5 separate regions of the Homo sapiens genome follow, and all the other regions are linked to region 2. The links are contacts of gene promoters, found by promoter capture Hi-C in blood cells and fetal thymus (Javierre and others, 2016). All regions are on one chromosome and are shown on one strand. Each heading gives the region's core, a stretch centred on a gene start or on the middle of the fragment in contact. The rest is flanking DNA. Distances are from core to core; before and after follow the strand shown.

Region 1 (4,211 bases), core at 1,372-3,871, 880 kb before region 2:
ATCATTTGTTCACATTTTTTGCCCACTTTTCTATTTTTGTGTTAATAATTTTCTAATCAGTTTGTGTTTTATGTACATAGCAATATCAACATTAAAGCTAGTAACCCTGTGTTCTTGTATATATGACAAATATATTTTGGAAAATATTTGCCATGCATATTTGTTAGGGGAAAATGTTTGCCATAAATAGTTGTTTGTTGTTGCTTTTTAGCATTTTGTTGTTAATGTTTTATACCTTTTATTTAGGTTTTTTTTGTTGTTGTTGGTGGTGGTTTTTGGGTTATTTGTCTTTTGCATTTTTAGTAGACACAAGGTTTTACTATGTTGCCCAGGCTGGTCTCAAACTCATGACTCAAGCAATCCCCTCGCTTCGGCCTCTCAAAGTGCTGGGATTACAGGTGTAAGCCACCACACCCACCCACTTTTTTTTTTTTTTTTTTTCATATTGTCAGATACTTTTCCCTTTGGGATATCAGCCATCATCTAAATGCTTTGAAAGGCCCTCCTAATTCAGAGATGAGGTAAATATTTACATGTATTTCCTATTAGGTTGTGTGTATGTGTGGAGTTTAACTTCTTAATTTTGACTTTAATTTATAACTTCATTATGATCATGAGATGCCCACCATGAGGGCAAAGTTCCTGCAACTTTTTAAGCTTGTCAACAGATGAAAAGGTCAAATTACCACCCCAGGAAATACACAAGTTTAGGCAAAAGTGAGCCTAAATTTGACACACAGTAACTCGTAAGCATCCATGCTGTGGTCCAGCAAGGCCGTTAGGCATAAAGGGTGAGCAGATCTCAGAAGGACGCCAAACAGCATCTCCTCTCCACAAGCCAAGCCATGTTCAGTGTTTCTCCTTTCACACTGAGAATTCCCCAGTGCTTATCATCAGCACATCCTGATGGTTTTCCTGGACTCCCTCCTCCCACCACACCATGCTCGACCTCACAAAGATGCAAGGGTCCTCGCTGGGGGTCCCTGAGCTCCACTTCCCTGATAATCTCCCACCAACACCAAAAGGAAGGATGAAACTCCTCAAACCCACCCTAAGTGGTGACTAGTGTCTGCCTGGATGGAGAAGCCCAAACAAACATCACCGAAGGTGATGGATTCGAGCCTGGAGCAGCGATTCTCAGTAATTCTCAACTGCAGAGCCCAGTCAGCTGTGAAATGTCATCAGCAATATCCGTGATAATAAAGGGATGGCTGGGCGTGGTGGCTCACACCTGTAATCCCAGCACTTTGGGAGGCCGAGGCGGGCAGACCATGAGGTCAGGAGATCGAGACCATCCTGGCTAACACGGTGAAACCCCATCTCTACTAAAAATACAAAAAATTAGCCAGGCGTGATGGCGGGCGCCTGTAGTCCCAGCTACTCGGGAGGCTGAGGTAGGAGAATGGCGTGAACCCGGGAGGTGGAGCTTGCAGTGAGCCGAGATCGCACCACTGCACTCCACCTTGGGCAACAGAGCAAGACTCCGTCTCAAAAAATAATAATAATAATAATAATAATTATTATTATTATTATTATTATTATTAAGGGATTTGGCTGGGCATGATGGCTCATGCCTGTAGTCCCAGCACTTTGGGAGGTGGAGGCTGGTGGGTTGTTTGAGCCCAGCCTGGGCAATGTGGTAAAACCCCATCTCTACACAAAAACACAAAAAAATTAGCCAGGCTTGGTGGTGTGCACCTGTGGTCCCAGCTACTCAGTAGGCTGAGGTGGGAGGACTGCTTATTACTTGCTTATTAATACTGCTCATGGGTTCTGTTGAACAGACATACCACAGTGTATTTATCCATTCTGCTGATGAATATTTGAGCTATTTCCAGTTTGGGGCAATTAGGAACAATGTTAGTGTGAACACTTTTAACAACCTTATTGAGGTATAATTTATATTACTATAAAATGTACCCATTATAATTGGACTATATACAGCTTTGGCAGGGCACAGTGGCTCACATCTGTAATACCAGCACTTTGGGAGGCTGAGGCGGGTGGACTGCTTGAGCTCAGAAGTTCAAGACTAGCCTGGACAATGTGGTGAAACCCCATCTCTACAAAAAATTCAAAAATTAGTCAGGCATGGTAGTGCACCTGTAGTCCCAGTTACTTGGGAGTCTGAGGTGGAAGGATGACTTGAGCCAGGGAGGCAGAGGTTGCAGTGAGCTAAGATCACACCATTGCACTCCAGCCTGGGCAACAGAGCCAGACCCTGCCTAAAAACAGAAACAAACAAACAAAAAATTATATAGTTGTGTAGCCATCACCACCACCTAGTTTTAGAACATTCCATCACCCCCAGAAGTTTCCTCATGCCTATTTGCAGGCAGTCCTCCCTATCCACCCACCCATAGCCCAGGCAGCCGATGATATGCTTTCTGTCTCTACAGTGCTGCCTTTTCTACAAGTGTAATCAGATAATATGTAGTATTCTGTGTTTGGCTTCTTGCACGGAGCATAATGTTTTTAACCTTCAGTATCTATAGTCTGTTCCTTTTTATTTCTGAGTAGTTGATATGGTTTGACTGTGTCCCCACCCAAATCTCATCTTGAATTGTAGTTCCCGTAATTCCTAGGTGTTGTGGGAGGGACCCGGTGGGAGATAATTGAATCATAGGGGCGGTTTCCCCCACTGTTCTTGTGGTAGTGAATACATCTCGTAAGATCTGATGGTTTTGTAAGGGCTTTCCCTTTTTGCTTGGCTCTTATTCTTGCTTTGCCTGCCACCATATAAGATGTGCCTTTCCAGCAGGTGTGGTGGCTCACTCCTATAATCCCAGTACTTTGGGAGGCCGAGGCAGGCAGATCATGAGGTCAGGAGTTTGAGACCAGCCTGTCCAACATGGCAAAACCCCATCTCTACAAAAAATACAAAATTTAGCTGGGCCGGATGGCAGGTGCCTGTAATCCCAGCTACTCAGGAAGCTGAGGAAGAATTGCTCTGCCTGGGAGGCAGAGGTTGCAGTGAGCCGAGATCACACCACTGCACTCCAGCCTGGGAGACAGAGGGAGACTTTTGTCTCGAAAAAAAAAGTCGGGCATAATGACTCATGCCTGTAATCCCAGCACTTTGGGAGGCCAAGGAGGGCGGATCATCTGAGGTCGGGAGTTTGAGACCAGGCTGACCAATATGGAGAAACCCCATCTCTACTAAAAATACAAAATTAGCTGGGCATGGTGGCACATGCCTGTAATCCCAGCTACTCAAGAGGCTGAGGCAGGAGAATCGCTTGAACCCGGAAGGCGGAGGTTGCAGTAAGCCGAGATCACACCATTGCACGCCAGCCTAGGCAATAAGAGCAAAGCTCCTTCTCAAAAAAAAAAAAGTTCCAGTTTCTTCATGTCCTCACTTGGTTTTTCCAGTTTCTTTTACTACAACCACTTTAGTTTGGTAGGTAGTGTGTAAACATTCTTAATCGTGTTTCCTGGTCCTCAGGAGCATCTGTCTGGCTGACTGCTAGGCCACAAATTATTTTTGCCTTCAACTTTTCTAAATATTTCCAAGTTGTTTTCCACATCGATTATACCAATTTAATTCTCTCTAGCAATATATAAGTTCCAGTTATACCACATTCTTGTCAATGTCTGATATTGATAGAATATTTGATTTTGCCAATCTGATGGTGTAAAGTGGTATCTCATTTTAGTTATAATTTGAATTCCCGATTATAATCTAGTTTATCCTTTTAATATCCATTTACATTTCTTCTGCTATAAGTGCCTTTTCACACGTTTCACAAATTTTTCTATTTGTGTGTATATCTCATATCAATTTTTAGTTATTTTATATCTTCTGGGCACTAGGACCTTAGTCAATGACATGTATTACAAACAGCTCCTCTCACTTTTTTTTTTTTTTTTGAGAGGGAGTCTCACTCTGTCACCCAGGCTGGAGTGCAGTGGCCTGATCTCGGCTCACTGCAACCTCCAACTCCCAGGTTCAAGCGATTCTTGTGCCTCAGCCTCCCAAGCAGCTGGGACTACAGGTGTGTGCCACCACACCCAGCTAATTTTTGTATATGTAGTAGAGACAGGGTTTCACCATGTTGGCCAGGCTGGTCACTAACTCCTGGCCTCAAGTGATCCGCCCACCTTGGCCTCCCAAAGTGCTGGGATTACAGGAGTGGGCCACCACGCCTGGCCATGACTTGTCTTTTTACTTACTGTGTGGTGTCTTCTAAGAAACAGAAGTTCTTCATTTT
Region 2 (4,253 bases), core at 1,336-3,835:
ACCAACCCGCTGGCCCTTTGACTGGCATAAAGAGTTCCCCTCTGGAGGACACTACAACTGCAGGGCTCCTTCTTCAACCCATCCAGCAGGAAGTAGCTACAGAGGTCATTGCCCAATTCCCAACAGCTCTTGGGGTGTCCTCTTTAGAGGGGGGATTGAGAGGTGAAGCCAGCTAGACTTCCTGGGTTGAGTAGGGACTTGGAGAACTTTTCTGTCTAGCTAGAGGATTGTAAATGCACCAATCAGTGCTCTGTGTCTAGCTGAAGGACTGTAAATGCACCAATCAGCACTCTGTAAAAACACACCAATCAGTGCTCTGTGTCTAGCTAGAAGATTGTAAATGCACCAATCAGCACTCTGTAAAAATGCACCAATCAACACTCTGTGTCTAGCTAAAGGATTGTAAATGCACCAATCAGCATTCTTTACAATGGACCAATCAGCGCTCTGTAAAATGGACCAAGCAGCAGGATGAGGGCAGTGACAAATAAATAAATAAAAGCTGGCCACCCGAGCCAGCAGCAGCAACCCAGTCAGGTCCCCTTCCACGCTACGGAAGCTTTGTTCTTTCGCTCTTCACAATAAATCTTGCTGCTGCTCACTCTGGGTCTGTGCCACCTTGAAGAGCTGTAACACTCACCACAAAGGTCCGCGGCTTCATTCTTGAAGTCAGTGAGGCCAAGAACCCACCGGAAGGAACCAACTCCGGACACATGACCACTGAGAACTGTCTTCTCAAGGACCTGGGGGTTTGTCTCTTGAATTGCAAGCCTTCAAGGAGGTGGTTCTCATTCTCATTCCCAGTCCCTGTGGCTACCTTGCTCTCTTACACCACTGCTTGTCATGAAGACAGAAAAATTATGTCTCCTCTGGATAAGCATGGATTAACACACCCAGATGGCCTAGTTGCAGGACGAACCAACCCTTCACACTCCTCAGCACCTTTCCCTTAGCACACCACAGCCTCTAAAAAGCCTCCAAATTTTTGTTTCAGCAAAGTTGTGTTCAGTTCATGCTGGACCCAATTCCCTAGCAATAGTTTTCATTAAATAAAATCTAATTTACTGCTTTAACGAGTGTCCCACTTAAAAAATTTTTCTTGACAGTAAGCACATGAAATCGTTATTGAATTAATAAACTTAGGTTCTATATATGTGTAAACAGCTGAGCAGAGTTTCATTATTTTGAGCGTTCTTTTGGTATCTCCTCTCCCAACCTCCAAGAAGCTGAAATATGGCTTAAGTTATATTTTCCTTCAAAATCTCTAACTATGAAAGATGACAATTATGTCCAAGTTATCCACAGTACCTCCTGGATTGAAGTAAGTCAGCTTACTGTGGATATAGAAAGCTATCTAAAATGTCAGATCTCTAATTTCAATGCCCTGGTTTCTTTTTTTTTCTTTTTTTTTTTTTTAAGGAGACAGGGTCTCGCTGCACAGTGAGTGGCAAGATCAGGGTTAATTTGGCCTCAAGCAATATTCCCGCCTCAGCCTCCTGAGTAGCTGGCAATATAGGTGCTATGCCACCAAGCCCGGCTAATTTTTGTATTTTTAGTAGAGACGGGGTTTCACCATGTTGGCCAGGTTGGTCTCAACCTTCTGGGCTCAAGCTATCCTCCCGCTCTGCCTCACAAAGTGCTGGGATTGCAGGCCTGCGCCATGGCGTCTGGTTTGATTTCTCTTTTAAATATTTTTTTTGGCCAGGCGTGGTGGTTCATGCCTATAATCCCAGCAGTTTGGGAGGCCAAGGCGGGCAGATCACGAGGTCAGGAGATTGAGACCATCCTGGCCAACCCGGTGAAACCTCGTCTTTACTAAAAATACAAAAAATTAGCCAGGCGTGGTGGCGGACGCCTGTAGTCCCAGCTACTCGGAGGCTGAGGCAGGAGAATCGCTTGAACCCGGGAGGCGGAGATTGCAATGAGCCCAGACTGCACCGCTGCACTCCAGCCTGGGCGACACAGCAGACTTGTCTCAAAACAAAAAACAAAACCAACCAAAAAAACAAAAAACAAATGCAAAACAAAAAACAACAAAAATAAAACGAAATATTTTTTTCTCCCTATGGATTAAACACTTAAAAAATGTTTTACCACTTCTATTTCTGGGTCAACCACAATGTTCGGTTCCATCCAGAAAGACAAGTGGGTTTTGGAGAGGGTGTTTGGTTCCGCCTAGCATGCGAATTCCCATTCCCGCACAACGCTCTTCCTCCCTTCCTCCTTCCGGTAGCGTCCAGCAGGATTCCGCTGTTCCTCCAAAATCTTTGTCAGGAGAGCCATCCTGACGGTACCTTTAGGAAGCCCATAGATACCCGCCACAACCTGTGACTTTCAGGGTCAATTGCGTCTCAATTCGCACGTCTATCCAGAACCTGCGGGGACCACGTCCCCATCCTCCCGCCCGGCCTCCGCCTCCGAGGGTGTCACGTGCTAGACGCGGGCGTGAAGACAGTGTCGCCATGTTGATATCTGGCGTCGCCGTGTAGGGGAAGGGAGAGGGCGGCTGACTAGCTACCCGTAATTTCGGCTCCTGTGCGCAAGTGCGGAAGTGCGCTGGCCAGGAGCGTGATCGGTTTCCGGTCAGTGGTGTGGTACCGGGTACCCGGAGACGTGTATCGGACGGTGGGCCGCAGCCATGGCCGAGAGAAAACCTAACGGTGGCAGCGGCGGCGCCTCCACTTCCTCATCGGGCACTAACTTACTTTTCTCCTCCTCGGCCACGGAGTTCAGCTTCAATGTGCCCTTCATCCCAGTCACCCAGGCCTCCGCTTCTCCGGCCTCCCTGCTCTTACCGGGAGGTAATAAGGGGAGGGCGGCCCCGTGTGTGGTGGGAGGCGGGCGGGGGACGTGCAATGACAAAGGTCAGACGGGAGTTTTTCCTTCTGCCTCGAGCTACCCTCTGGATAGCTTGCCAGGATCATTACTGGCCAGGTTTGAGTGGGTCGGGGGCTTTGGGATCTTGGAGGTGGCAGGTGATGAGACTTGCTCTTCACGGAAACCCCCTGTTCCGAGTTGTCCAGAGTGCTGGACATTCATTCGTACCCTGGCATTCCGCAAATCTTTGCTGAATACCCGTTGTTGGTACGCCAGGTGCTGGCAGGAAATGCAAATAAATTAAACAGTGGCCCTCTCCTAGGGTACAGTAGTCTGTCTCCCACTAGGAGACTCCTAGGATACGGTAAGATACCTCCTAGGATGGACTGTGCCCCTCTCCTAGGATACGGTACACTGTCTCCTACTAGGAGATTGTTGTGATACAGTACAATATCTTCTAGGTTACAGTAAGATATCTTATAAGATGGACTGTGCCCCTCTTCTAGAAGCCTGTAATATTTGTGAAGTAGACATATACAATGCATTCCTTATCTTTTTTTTTTTTTTTTTTTTTTTGAGACGGAGTCTTGCTCTGTCGCCCAGGCTGGAATGCAGTGGCGCGATCTCGGCTCACTGCAGCCTCCACCTTCCAGGTTCAAGTGATTCTCCTGCCTCAGCCTCCCGAGTAGCTGGGACTACAGGCGTCTGCCACCATGCCTGGCTAATTTTTGTATTTGTAGTAGAGACAGGGTTCCACCATGTTGGCCAGGATGGTCTCAATCTCCTGACCTCAAGTGATCCGCCTGCCCTGGCCTCCCAAAGTGCTGGGATTACAGGTTTAACCCCCCACCCATTCCTCATCTTTCAAGACAATACATCACTTCTTCCAAGAAGCTGTTTCTTGTTCTCTTAGGCCCCCACTCCTATGTGCACTCCTAGCTCTTTTTTCATATTTGTATTATTGTCCAGGGAGATTGCTTTTTGATGATTATGTAGCATTGCCCAGAGCATAGTGTTTAAGAGCACAGACTGTCTGTATTCCAGTCCTTGCCCTGCCAGTAACTTGCTGTGTGACTGTAGGCATTTTACTTTACCTCTCTGTGCTTCAGTTTCTATGTATGTGTAGCCTCACAGAATTGTAATTAGAAATGCTTTAATTTTTGCAAAGCGCTAAGTATAGTGCGTGCCAGACAGTGTGATTTAATGTTTGTGAAATAAACACACCTGCCTCTCCATTTGGACTGCAGTCTTCTTCAGCAGCTATGACCTAATTGCCTTTTTATCTCCAGGATCTTATTTAGGGCCTAGTACATAGATCCTCTTTGGATGCTGAGTTTCCAGTGAATAATTTATTCTTGTTTGAAGGATGAAAGACAGTTTCATGGAGAAGCGAAGACAGGCACACTGGGAACAGCTGTACATGAAGGTTCCCCTGC
Region 3 (4,117 bases), core at 1,031-3,530, 790 kb before region 2:
TTTTTTTTAGAGACTGGTTTTTTTAGAGACTGGGTTTTGCTCTGTCACACAGGCTGGAGTGCAGTGGCTCAATTGTAGCTCATGGCAACCAGTGACTCTTGGACTCAAGTGATCCTCCCACCTCAGCCTCCTGAGTAGATAGGTTCAGGTGTGTATCTCCAAGCCCACCTAATTTTTAAATTTTTGTTCTAGAGACAGGGTCTTGCTATGTTGCCCAGGCTGCTCTTGAACTCCTGGGCTCGATGCTTTTGCCTCAGCTTCCCAAAATGCTGGGACTACAGGAATGAGCCTCGGTGCCCAGTCCATGAACTATTTCTTTTAATGCAACATAGTAGCCAGGTGTGATGGCTCACACCTGTAAGCCCAGCACTTTGGGAGGCTGAGGTGGGAGGATGTCTTAAGGCCAGGAGTTCAAAACCAGCCTGGGCAACATAGTGAGACTCCCATCTCTACAAAAATAAAATAAAAATAAAAATAAAAATTAGCCGGGCATCGTGGCTCATGCCTATAGTCCCAGCTACTCTGGAGGCTGATGCAGGAGGATTGCCTGAGCCTAGGAGTTCAAGGCCATACTGGGCAACATAAGGAGACCCCATCTCTACAAAAAGTTTTAAAAAATTGCTGGGCATGGTGGCACAAACCTATGGTCCCAGCTACTCGGGAGGCTGAGGTGGGAGAATTGCTTGAGCCTGGAAGGTCAAGTCTGCAGCAAGCTGTGATTGAACGACTGCACCCCAGCTTGGGTGACAGAGCAAGACCCTGTCTCAATAGATAAATGAATAAATAAATAGAAAGAAAGAAAGAAAAAAGAATAATGCAACACAGCTCGAAACCTGGGCTTCTTAGGGCCGGAGAGCTACCCAGCATCCTGAAACCATTGAGAACACAAGGAGGATGACTTCATCTTGGGAATGTTCTGGAAGCCTCACATATGCTAGAAGTCAGGACGGAGTGTCAGAGCAGTTGACTGAATCGCCTTCCAGTTCCCAAGTGAGACTGAATCCCTTAAATTAAAAGAGCTTGGCCAGGCGTGGTGGATCACACCTGTAATCCCAGCACTTTGGGAGGCCAAGGCGGATGGATCACTTGAGGCCAAGAGTTTCAGACTAGCCTGGCCAACATGGTGAAACCCCATCTCTACTAAAAATAAAAAAAAATTAACCAGGCTTGGTGGCACACACCTGTAGTCCCAGCTACTTGGGAGGCTGAGGCAGGAGAATTGCTTGAGCCTGGGAGGCGGAGGTTGCAGTTAGTGGAGATCACACCACTGCACTCCAGCCTGGGTGACAGAGCAAGACTCCGTCTCAGAAAAAAAAAAAGGCTGGGCACAGTAGCTCACACCTGTAATCCCAGCACTTTGGGAGGCTGAGGTGGGTGGATCACCTGAGGTCAGGAGTTCGAGACCAGTCTGACCAATATGGTGAAACCCTGTCTCTACTAAAAATACAAAAATTAGCCGGGTGTGGTGGCCTGCGCCTGTAGTCCCAGCTACTCAGGAGGCTGAGACAGGAGAATTGCTTGAACCCAGGAGGCGGAAGTTGCAGTGAGCTGAGATTGCATCACTGCATTGCGACAGAGCAAGACTCCATCAAAACAAACAAACAAACAAAACAACAACAACAAAAAAAAACTGCCACCCTAATGGCTCCCTTGGCTGACACATGCCCAATCTATGATGGAATCCAATTACAGAAACAAAGATGAAAAAGAACCATATTTGACTCATAGGAACCTGGGATTGGAACACCTGGAAGATGCTGGGGTCCCTTGTGCACTTGTCCATGTGGCCAGACAGTTTAGGCACTTTCCAAATCTGCTTCAGTGCCAGTAACTTACTCTTTTTCTGCAGAGCAAGGAGTGAGCAGGCTGTGCAAAAAAGAATTCACACGACAGGCCTGAGGGTGATATCCATAGAAAGTCTGCTGGCCAGTTTGGCCCTTGGCTGTGCCTGGAAACTTGGACTTCGGCAGTGTTCCCAGCATTTCTAGAACTGATCAAACTGATCAGAGTGACAGACTATGCCTGAACTATTTGTACATACAATGTGGTTCATGAGAGTCTGGAAATCTGGTATGAGCTAGGCAGAGGGTACCTATGTGACTGGCCCCCAGTAAAAACTGAGTTACTTGGTGACTGAGTTCTAACAAGCTTCCCTGGTTGATAAATATCACAAGTATTGCCACAACTTGTTGCTGGAGGAATTAGGTGTGTCCTGTGTGACTCTACCAGGAAATAACTCTTGGGAACTTGGCCCTGGTTTCCTCCAGACATCACCCCATGTGCCTTTTCCCTTTGCTGATTTTGCTTTGTATTCTCTGGCTGTAATAAATCATAGCCCTGAGCTGGGGATGGTGGTTCACATGTGTAACCCCAGCACTTTGGAGCCTGAGGTGGGCAGATCGCTTGAGGTCAGAAGCTTGAGATCAGCCTACACAATATGGTGAGATCACATCTCAAAAAAAAAAAAAAAAAAATAGCTAGGCATGGTGGTGCCTGCCTGTAGTCCCAGCTACTCAGGAGGATGAGGTGGGAGGATAGCTTGAGCCTGGATCAAAGCTGCAGTGAGCCGTGATCGTGCCACTGCACTCCAGCCTGGGTGACAGAGTGAGACCCTGTCTCAAAAAAATAAAAATGTATATCATAGCCATGAGTATAGCTATATGCTGAATCCTGAGAATCCTTCCAACAAATCATTGAATTTGGGGGGTGGTCTTGGGGACCCTTTATATTCTTACCTATAAAATTAGGCTATTCTTATCAATAAAACTAGCATAAAGATTTTCCCTGATTCAAATCTTTATTGGGAGAGTCACGGAGGAAAGTATGGTTAGCTCCATTTGATCACTGAGAAAACATGCACAGAAAAGATAGGAAACATGTGTGAGGTTTCGCAGCTAAGATGGGCAAGGGGGTTGGAACTCAGGTTGTCTGTTTCCACACCCCAGCTCCATCTGTCTGTGACAGCGCAGAGGTCAGTCTTACTTTTAAAGATTGGGGATGCGTCGCCTCTGCTCTCTCCACCCTCTATTCCTTTTCCCTTCACTCTGGTGTACCTGTCTGGCAGGTAAGACAGCACTTGTGGAGAAACAGGAGGGAAGGAGGTGTCAATTCCAGGTATCATCCCACTCACTGGAGCCTGGACACACCCCTCATTATCTTTCCCCTCCCTGCACCCACTATCATCTCCCTCTCCTTTGTTTAATTATCTGTTCATCATCGTCTTCATCCTCATTTCTTTTCTTTTTTTTTCTGAGATGGAGTCTCACTCTGTCGCCCAGGCTGGAATGCAGTGGCGCGATCTTGGCTCACTGCAACCGTCCTCTCTTGGGTTCAAGCCAGTCTGCCTCAGCTTCCTGAGTAGCTGGGATTACAGGCACCTGCCACCATGCCTAGCTAATTTTTGTGATTTTTTGTTTGTTTGTTTTTGAGATGGAGTCTCGCTCTGTCGCCCAGGCTGGAGTGCAGTGGCGTGATCTCGGCTCACTGCAAGCTCCGCCTCCCGGGTTCACGCCATTCTCCTGCCTCAGCCTCACAAGTAGCTGGGACTACAGGCACCTGCCACCACGCCCGGCTAATTTTTTGTATTTTTAGTAGAGACAGGGTTTCACCGTTTTAGCCGGGTTGGTCTCAATCTCCTGACCTCGTGATCCACCCACCTCAGCCTCCCAAAGTGCTAGGATTACAGGCGTGAGCCACCGTGCCCCACCTAGTGCAAGTTTCTAGTTGGCTTCCAAACTGATTCCACATCTGTGTCCCACTCCTCAGCCTCTAAACACCTGCTTCTTTTCTGTGAAAACTAGACACATTAACAGTTATACTACAACAGGAAGCCCAGAGAATAGAAGGGCACGTAGTTCAGGGTGCTGCCTTCCAGGGGTTCAGTTTAGTGAGAGAAACAGGAATGCCATATACACACCTAAATATACTCCAATGTATAAATTGCAGCCTGGGCAACATAGCGAGAAACTGTCTCCAAAAAAAAAAGAAAGAAAAAAGAAAAAAACAGGCGCAGTGGCTCACGCCTGTAATCCCAGCTACGCAGGAGGCTGAGGCAGGAGAATCCCTTAAAACCGAGAGGCGGAGGTTGCAGTGAGCCGAGATCGCGCTATTGCACTCC
Region 4 (3,735 bases), core at 452-2,951, 720 kb before region 2:
AATTCCTTCCCTTGCCCTGCGCCTCCAGGAACAGGAAATTGGCTCATGGCGTCCTTCAGGCCTGTATGACTCTGCTTCTGTATTTGCTCAGTTTGCCTAGCTCACTTTTCTTAACCTCCAGGGGTTTATCTCCTCTTCCAGGAAGCCTTCCCTGACCCTCCGAGTTGAGTAAGGTGCCCCCTCCACTTCTACCCTTATGCCGCAGAAATCCATCTAAGCACCAGTGCAGTATGTAGCGTGCTGTTCTATTCTGTTGTCTCTACCCTCCAGGATGTCACAAAGCCAGCCCGCTGGCCTGCTTCCCCACTTTGGACTGCTATGTCGTCTTAACAAAGGAGCCAGAGTGATTCTCTTAGAACAAGTTGATGTCACTCTTCTTTTCAAATCCTTCCTGACATTCCCCACCCCAGAACAGAACCTAAAGTCCTTGGCCTGGCCAAAAGGCACTCTGGGACCCCCACCACAGCCATAGTCACCGGCCTCCTAGTAAATCTGCATCCGCTCTGAGCCCACTCTTGCCTCACGGCCTTTGTGTTTTCCCTGCCCTCTGCCTAGAAGTCTCTTATCCCCGTAATACTCTCACTTTCTACGCGTTTTCTCTCCCTCGATGCTCATCAAAACCCTGAGATAAGTACAATTATTGTCCTCATTTTACAATGAGAAAATTGATCCAGAGAGGCTCTCCCTTAAGGCCTTCCTTGACAACCCCATCTAGAACACCTACAACTCCGCTTCAGCAGTTTCACTCCACATTATTTTCCTTCCAAACACTCTACTTTTACTACATGTATGAGGTGTTTCCCCTCTAGAATGTAAGAGCTTAAAAGCAGGGGTTTGTCCGTTGTTCGCTCTTGTGCCTGGAAAACAGCACCTGGTGCGGGGTAGGCACTCAAGGATTTACTGAAACAACGAGAAAATGTTTCCCTATCTGTCTTGCCCCTAAACCGAGTTCCTTGAGTGCGGAACCAGCATCTTATTCTCTTTGTGGCCCCTGAGGTAAATGCTCAATAAATGTTTGTTGATAATCTGAGAAGGAAAGGAGAGCCCAAAATAAGCTGATCCAACAGTTACTGGTGGTAAAATGCAAATGTTTTAAAATATGTTTATTTTGTATGTTTTACAATGAATACTTCAGCAAAGAAAATAATTATAATTTCAAAATGCAATCCCTGGATTTGATAAATATCCTTTATAATCGATTACACTAATCAATATCTAGAAATATACATAGACAAAGTTAGCTAATGAATAAAATAAGTAAAATGACTACATAAACTCAATTTCAGGGATGAGGGATCATGCATGATCAGTTAAGTCACTCTGCCACTTTTTAAAATAATACGATTCACATTTGCTTCAATCACATAAACATTCATTGCAGGAGTTACACGGCTAATCATTGAAAATTATGATCTTTGTTAGCTTAAAAGAAAATTCAGTTTAATACAAAGACATTCAAGATGAAAATTTCAGGACCGTTGATCAGAAGCTTTCAATGTGTGTTGCTCTACTTTATTATAGGCAAGATTCAAGTAAGGCTAAGAAAGAAGAGTGTTTCCATTGAGACATGATCTAAGAATAGCCTTCTATAGAGGCAAATTATGTTCTGTAGAAACTAGCTAGCCAGCCACCAAGATGTTACCAATAAAGGATTCCTTGTACTAGCAACTAACCATGTTTAAAAGGTCTTAGCCAGAATTACAAAAACAAAACATTTAGAGTAATACTTATGAATACAAGCATAATTGGTTCCTTGCCTTCTACAAATAACCATCTTGAAAATGATAAAAGCAGGTTTCAACTGTGGTTCTTCTCTCAGTTGAGAAGGTGCAGATACACATGGGTGATCTACTGATTTACCTTCTGAAAGTACTCTTTGGAAGCAGCTGGACTTGGCTTGATCTGAAAATACAAAAGCTTAATTAGGTAACTGTGACTTTACCATAATAATAGTCCCAAAAGTGAGTGGCAATCTCCCAATTTTTAACCTAAAGTTCTTTAAACTTTTAAAGATTTCCTTTAAAACATAAAGATGAAAGTTTCATTAAGGCCTGCCTGTCTCTAGGCCGGGCACGGTGGCTCACGCCGGTAATCCCAGCACTTTGGGAGGCCAAGGCGGGTGGATCACGAGGTCAGGAGATCCAGACCATCCTGGCTAACACGGTGAAACCCCGTCTCTACTAAAATTCAAAAAATTAGCCGTGGTGGTGGGCGCCCTGTAGTCCCAGCTACTCAGGAGGCTGAGGCAGGACAATGGCGTGAACCCAGGAGGCGGAGCTTGCAGTGAGCTGAGAGAGCGCCACTGCACTCCAGCCTGGGCGAGAGCAAGACTCCGTCTCAAAAAAAAAAAAAAAGGCCTGCCTGTCTCTGATAATTGGTTCCTGGCTCCCCACCCCACCCCCTCTACCCCACAGCAGCTTCACCCATTTGCATATCATCTGCACGCTTGCTTCAAGAGTGGGCTCCCTTTTGTGGATATTTCAGGTCAATAGCTCTCGAGGCTGAGAGAACATGGACCTCACTGCTTTTGGGGAAAAAAACCTACCGTAGGAGAATCCGGTGTCCAGTTCGCTGGGCAGACTTCTCCATGTGTTTCTACATACTGGAACGCCTTCACCAAGCGGAGGGTTTCTTCCACGCTTCGGCCCACTGGGAGATCGTTGACGCTCAAATGCTTGATGACTCCATTGGGGTCAATTATGAAGAGACCTCTGCATGATCATTTATCCTCATCAGTGCCTCAACAGTACCAGAACTAGAACAGTCTAACTTCTTCCCTTTTAGGTCTTTAATTCTCCTTTTAATAAAATATTTATTAAGCGTAATCATATGCTTAAAGGTGGGGTTTTCACTGTTGTGCAAAAAACTTATCATCTCTTACTGATGACAGATGCTTTAACAAAGGCAGTACTGGACCAGGTCACCATAAAACATGCAGTATGGTCACACTTACAAGTTCACATAGTGCCCTGAATGTTACACAGTATCGGAAAGTCACTGAACTAGAGAGAGCAAAGACTATTAGTGACTTGGCAAGCATTCTTTGAGCTGCTGTATCACATCTTGGCAAGAAACTTATAGGCAAATGGGAAGAGACAGAGGTGTATTTTATCTAGGTTCAACAACTGTTTATTATGAATGAATTATTGGGTAAATGGGGGGAAATCCCACGGGAAAAATCTTCATAGAAAGAATGTACAGGCTCTAAGTCTATGCAAAACAGAAAACCATGCCCATCACTTTTAATCATGTAGCAGCATGTAATGAGATGAACCACGCTACCACAGTGGTCTGTGTTTATCTTCTGTGTTGGTGTTACTGTGACAGATGCAGATATGTTTAGCCTAGAAGTTTTTTTGGTTGTTTGGTTTAAATATAGGGTCTCACTGTATTGCCCACGCTGGAGTGCAGTGCTCTTCTCAGGTGTGATCACAGCAGGCTGCAGCCTCGAACTTCTGGCTCAACTGATCCTCCCACCTCAGACTCCCAAGTAGCGTGACTATAGGTGTGTGTCACTGTGTCCGGTTATTTAACCTACAGGTTTTAACAGTCTGTCTTAAAAGGATGTGGAAATTTCAGGTATCAATCACTCATGGAAAAGGCAGGTTAGAGAAAACTCAGGATAAAAGATGCTTCTCCCTCCCTGGGTCAGGCACTGGGAGCCTGGGGTTTGAGGTGAAACTGTTCCCAGAGGGTGCAGCCAGCTGAAGTCCACCAATAGAAGGTGAGGCAGAG
Region 5 (3,854 bases), core at 528-3,027, 850 kb before region 2:
CCTGGGAGGCAGAACTTGCAGTGAGGGGAGATCGCGCCACTGCACTCCAGCCAGATGACAGAGCGAGACTCCGTCTCCAAAAAAAAAAAAAAAAAAAAAAATTAGCCATGCATGGTGGCATGTGCCTGTAGTCCCAGCTACTTGGGAAGCTGAGGCAGGAGAATTGCTTGAACCTGGGAGGCAGAGGTTGCAGTGAGCTGAGATCATACCACTGCACTCCAGCCTGGGAGACAGAGCAAGACTCCACCTCAAAAAGAAAAAAAATGGTAATAGACGCATGTCACAAACATGTATACAACTGCTCACGAATAATAAAGTGTGAAACAATAAGCAGGCCCAGGACTAAGAAAAAAAATGAGGCTGGGCGCAGCGCCTCACACCCGTTATCCCAGCACTTCACTTTGGGAGGGAGAGGCAGAAGGATAACTTGGGCCCAGGAGTTTGAGACCAGCCTGGGCAACATAGCGAAACCCCGTCTCTCCAAAAAATAAAATATTAGCAGGGTGTGGTGGCATGCGCCTGTAGTCCTAGCTACTCAGAAGGCTGAAGTGGGAGGCTCCCTAGGGTCCGGGAGGTCAAGGTTGCAGTGAGCCATGACTGCACCACTGCATTCCAGCCTGTGCAACAGAGCAAGACCCTGTCTCAAAAAAAGTAAAGTAAAATGAGTTCCTCCTTGCATAATCTCTCAGTTGGCAAAAATAAATATATAAAGTACATTTTGGTTTCAATTATTTATTTTTAAAAGGAGGCTGGTTCCCAGTAAAACCTGAAAAATACACCAATACTGAAAGCATGAGTACAGGAAGAGCCTTCAAAGAAGCAGTCATCGAAGCAGAAGGAAAACAAAGAGCACATCACTAAAGAAGAGAGGGGTTGGGTTATTTATGTTTTGGATGGTGGTATTCTGAAGGCAAACTTTTGACAGCGAAGTCACTGCAAATGATACTGAAGGAAAGATGAAAGACCAGTTTATCTGGAAAATAACAATACAGCCCTGATATTTATCCATCAGAATTTCACTTTTACAGGTGAACACTTAAGCATATTCTAGGAAATAGAATTTTACCTGGCTTGACTAATGGTCTCCAAGGACCAGGTCTTGAGTCATCACCCCGTCTGGGAAACCGATCATCATCAGCACGTCTTGAAAGGCGATCATCATCCATGTTTCTCCAAGGGCCCCTGTCATCCTCTGCACCACGCCTGGGAATTCTGTCATCATCGGCGTTCCTCCAAGGTCCTCGATCATCATCCAACCCTCGCCTGGGACCCCGGTCATCATCCATGCCTCGCCTGGGACCCCGGTCATCATCCATGCCTCGCCTGGGACCCCGGTCATCATCCATGCCTCGCCTGGGACCCCGATCATCATCCAACCCTCGCCTGGGACCCCGGTCATCATCAGCATTACGCCAGGATGATCGCTCATCATCAGCGCCTCCTCGCCTCGGCCCCCGGTCATCATCCATCCCACGTCTTGGTCCTCTGTCCTCATCAGCTGTTCGCCAGCTTCCTCTGTCCTCATCCAGTCCTCGTCTAGGTGGTCTGTCATCATCCGCATGACGCCAGTTTCCCCTGTCTTCATCGGCAATTCGTCTGGGAGGCCTGTCATCATCTGTGTTACGCCAGGAAGGCCGGTCATCGTCTGCCCCACGACGAGAGAACCTATCTTCCTCAGGACCACGTCTAGGGCCTCTGTCATCATCCATGCCACGCCGGGGAACCCGATCATCGTCTGGTCTAAGAGAGGGCTCTCTATCTTCATCATCCCCCAGACGCCGGGGCCGCTCTTCATCTCTTCTATGAGACCTGTCCTCATCTCGCCCTTCTCCACGTCTCCACTCCCTACACAGCAACAAGAACAATTAAAAATATATAAAATAAAAAAGCATATGATCCTTTGGGGATTTTTTTTTTCACATGCTTTTTAAAAACTTCAGTATGGGCCGGAGCAGTGGCTCGCACCTTTAATCCCAGCACTCTGGGAAGCAGAGGCAGGCAGATCACCTGAGGTCAGGAGTTCAAGACCAGCCTGGCCTGGCAAAACCCATCTCTACTTAATTGTAAGACATGCGGCTGGGCACAGTCGCTCACACCTGTAATCCCAGCACTTTGGAAGGCCAAGGCGGGAGGATTGCTTGAGCCCAGGAGTTTGAGACTAGCCTGGGCAACATGTCAAAACCCCATCACTATAAAGAATATAAAAATTCACCAGGCGTAGTGGCCCACACCTGTAATCCCAGCACTTTGGGAGGCCGAGGCAGGCAGATTTCTTGAGGTCAGGAGTTCAAGACCAGCCTGGCCAACATAGTGAAACCTCGGGTCTACTAAAAATGCAAAAATTAGCCAGGCGTGGTGGTGCATGTCTGTAATCCTACTTGGGAGGATTACAAGTGCCTCCCAGCTACTTGGGAGGCACAAGAATTGCTTCAACCCAGGAGGCGGAGGCTGCAGTGAGCCGAGAACGCGCCACTGCACTCCAGCCTGGGTGACAGAGCTAGATTCTGTCTCAAAAACAAAGAAACAAACAAACAAAATTAACCAGGCATGGTGGAGCGCACCTGTGGTCCCAGCTACTCAGGAGGCTGAGGCAGGAGGATCACCTAAGCCCAGGGAGGTTGAGGCTGTAGTGAGCCGAGATCGCGCCACTGCACTCCAGAGTGAGACGCCATCTCAAAACAACAACAACAACAACAAAAACAACAACACAGGCCAAGTGCAGTGGCTCATGCCTGTCATCCCAGCAATTTGAGAGGCTGAGACAGTCAGATCGCTTGAGGTCAAGAGGTCAAAGCCAGCTTGGGCAACATGGCAAAACCCCATCTCTACTAAAAATACAAAAAGTAGCCAGGTGTGGTGGCACACACCTGTAATCCCAGCTATTCGAGAGGCTGAGGCACTTGAACCCAGGAGGCAGAGGTTGCAGGGAGCCGAGATAGCGCCACTGCACCCCAGCCTGGGCAGCAGACCCAAAAAAACAAAATACAAACCCACACGCAATCAGACATGCACACAATTCTTCATGGCTCTCCTTTCCCTGCCTCTACAAAATGAACCAAATTTTAAAACCACTGATAAGATATTAACAGGAACTGGAGCGGCATTATTTTCCTCAACTCTACTTACTTCTCTGGCGGGCCTCTTCTCCACTCAGAATCTGCTTCAGGTCCTTTTCTCCAGGTGCCTTCTGAATCTCTATCTCCCCAACGAGAGTCCTCCATTGACAAAGTGAAAAAGAAGCATTACATTGGTAACCATTTACTATTACAACTACTGGTATTACCATTCAAATATTTTTTGTACTTATAACAATATGAAGCCCTTAAATAAGCAAGTTTTAAAATTTCATTTATTTTTTAATCTGAGATCAGACTGACGCTACAGGGAAACTGGTAGTCTCATATATTGTAGGTGGCCTTACAAACCGATATAACACTGTGCTGGAAAGCAACCTGGGAACATACACCTCTACAGATTTCCTTCAACCTAGAAATCCCCTTTGAAGAATGTGAAAAAAGCCACATGCCCTGAAATGGACATCACAGTGCCTACGAAGCAAAGAAAGGTGGAGACATTTTATTTAATGTCTAATGGGGGTGGTTAAATTAACAGTACTTCTCTATTCAAAGTACTCTGATGGGCCGGGCGCGGTGGCTCACGCCTGTAATCCCAGCAGTTTGGAAGGCCGAGGCAGGTGGATCACGAGGTCAGGAGATCAAGACCATCCTGGCTAACACGGTGAAACCCTGTCTCTACTAAAAATACAAAAAATTAGCCAGGCGTGGTGGCAGGCGCCTGTAGTCCCAGCTACTTGGGAGGCTGAGGCAGGAGAATCGCTTGAACCCAGAAGGCAA

The links. Contacts are between HindIII fragments. The CHiCAGO score rates a contact against its expected background, and 5 or more counts as called.
Region 1: a contact is called between a fragment that was not itself captured here and the fragment with the promoter of SEC23IP in region 2, in 1 of 17 cell types (activated CD4 T cells). The highest score is 5.4, in activated CD4 T cells.
Region 3: a fragment that was not itself captured here is called in contact with the fragment with the promoter of SEC23IP in region 2 in 3 of 17 cell types (naive B cells, naive CD8 T cells and total CD8 T cells); the score reaches 5.9 in naive B cells.
Region 4: a fragment that was not itself captured here is called in contact with the fragment with the promoter of SEC23IP in region 2 in 1 of 17 cell types (non-activated CD4 T cells); the score reaches 6.6 in non-activated CD4 T cells.
Region 5: a contact is called between a fragment that was not itself captured here and the fragment with the promoter of SEC23IP in region 2, in 7 of 17 cell types (naive CD4 T cells, activated CD4 T cells, fetal thymus and 4 more). The highest score is 8.1, in naive CD4 T cells.

Annotation. Positions count from the first base shown.
Region 1 is chr10:119,010,424-119,014,634 of GRCh38, forward strand. All of the region lies in intron 2 of LINC03036 (long intergenic non-protein coding RNA 3036), which reads right to left. Among named protein-coding and RNA genes, the nearest start is that of LINC03036, 17 kb to the right of the region's middle. The HindIII fragment of the contact is 3,933 bases long and covers 656-4,211 here.
Region 2 is chr10:119,890,145-119,894,397 of GRCh38, forward strand. It overlaps SEC23IP (SEC23 interacting protein), which reads left to right and starts at 2,586. Exons shown (of 19, transcript NM_007190.4): 1 at 2,586-2,801. The coding sequence starts at 2,639. RefSeq lists enhancers at 1,301-1,812, 1,813-2,323, 2,324-2,834. The HindIII fragment of the contact is 6,362 bases long and covers 558-4,253 here.
Region 3 is chr10:119,098,678-119,102,794 of GRCh38, forward strand. No RefSeq gene overlaps it. Among named protein-coding and RNA genes, the nearest start is that of DENND10, 3.4 kb to the right of the region's middle. The HindIII fragment of the contact is 268 bases long and covers 2,147-2,414 here.
Region 4 is chr10:119,166,632-119,170,366 of GRCh38, forward strand. It overlaps PRDX3 (peroxiredoxin 3), which reads right to left. Exons shown (of 7, transcript NM_006793.5): 6 at 2,546-2,711; 7 at 1,089-1,902. The coding sequence ends at 1,849. Among named protein-coding and RNA genes, the nearest start is that of SFXN4, 2.8 kb to the left of the region's middle. The HindIII fragment of the contact is 428 bases long and covers 1,488-1,915 here.
Region 5 is chr10:119,040,928-119,044,781 of GRCh38, forward strand. EIF3A (eukaryotic translation initiation factor 3 subunit A) reads right to left here. Exons shown (of 22, transcript NM_003750.4): 18 at 3,127-3,215; 19 at 1,067-1,845. Among named protein-coding and RNA genes, the nearest start is that of NANOS1, 13 kb to the left of the region's middle. The HindIII fragment of the contact is 5,604 bases long and covers 1-3,854 here.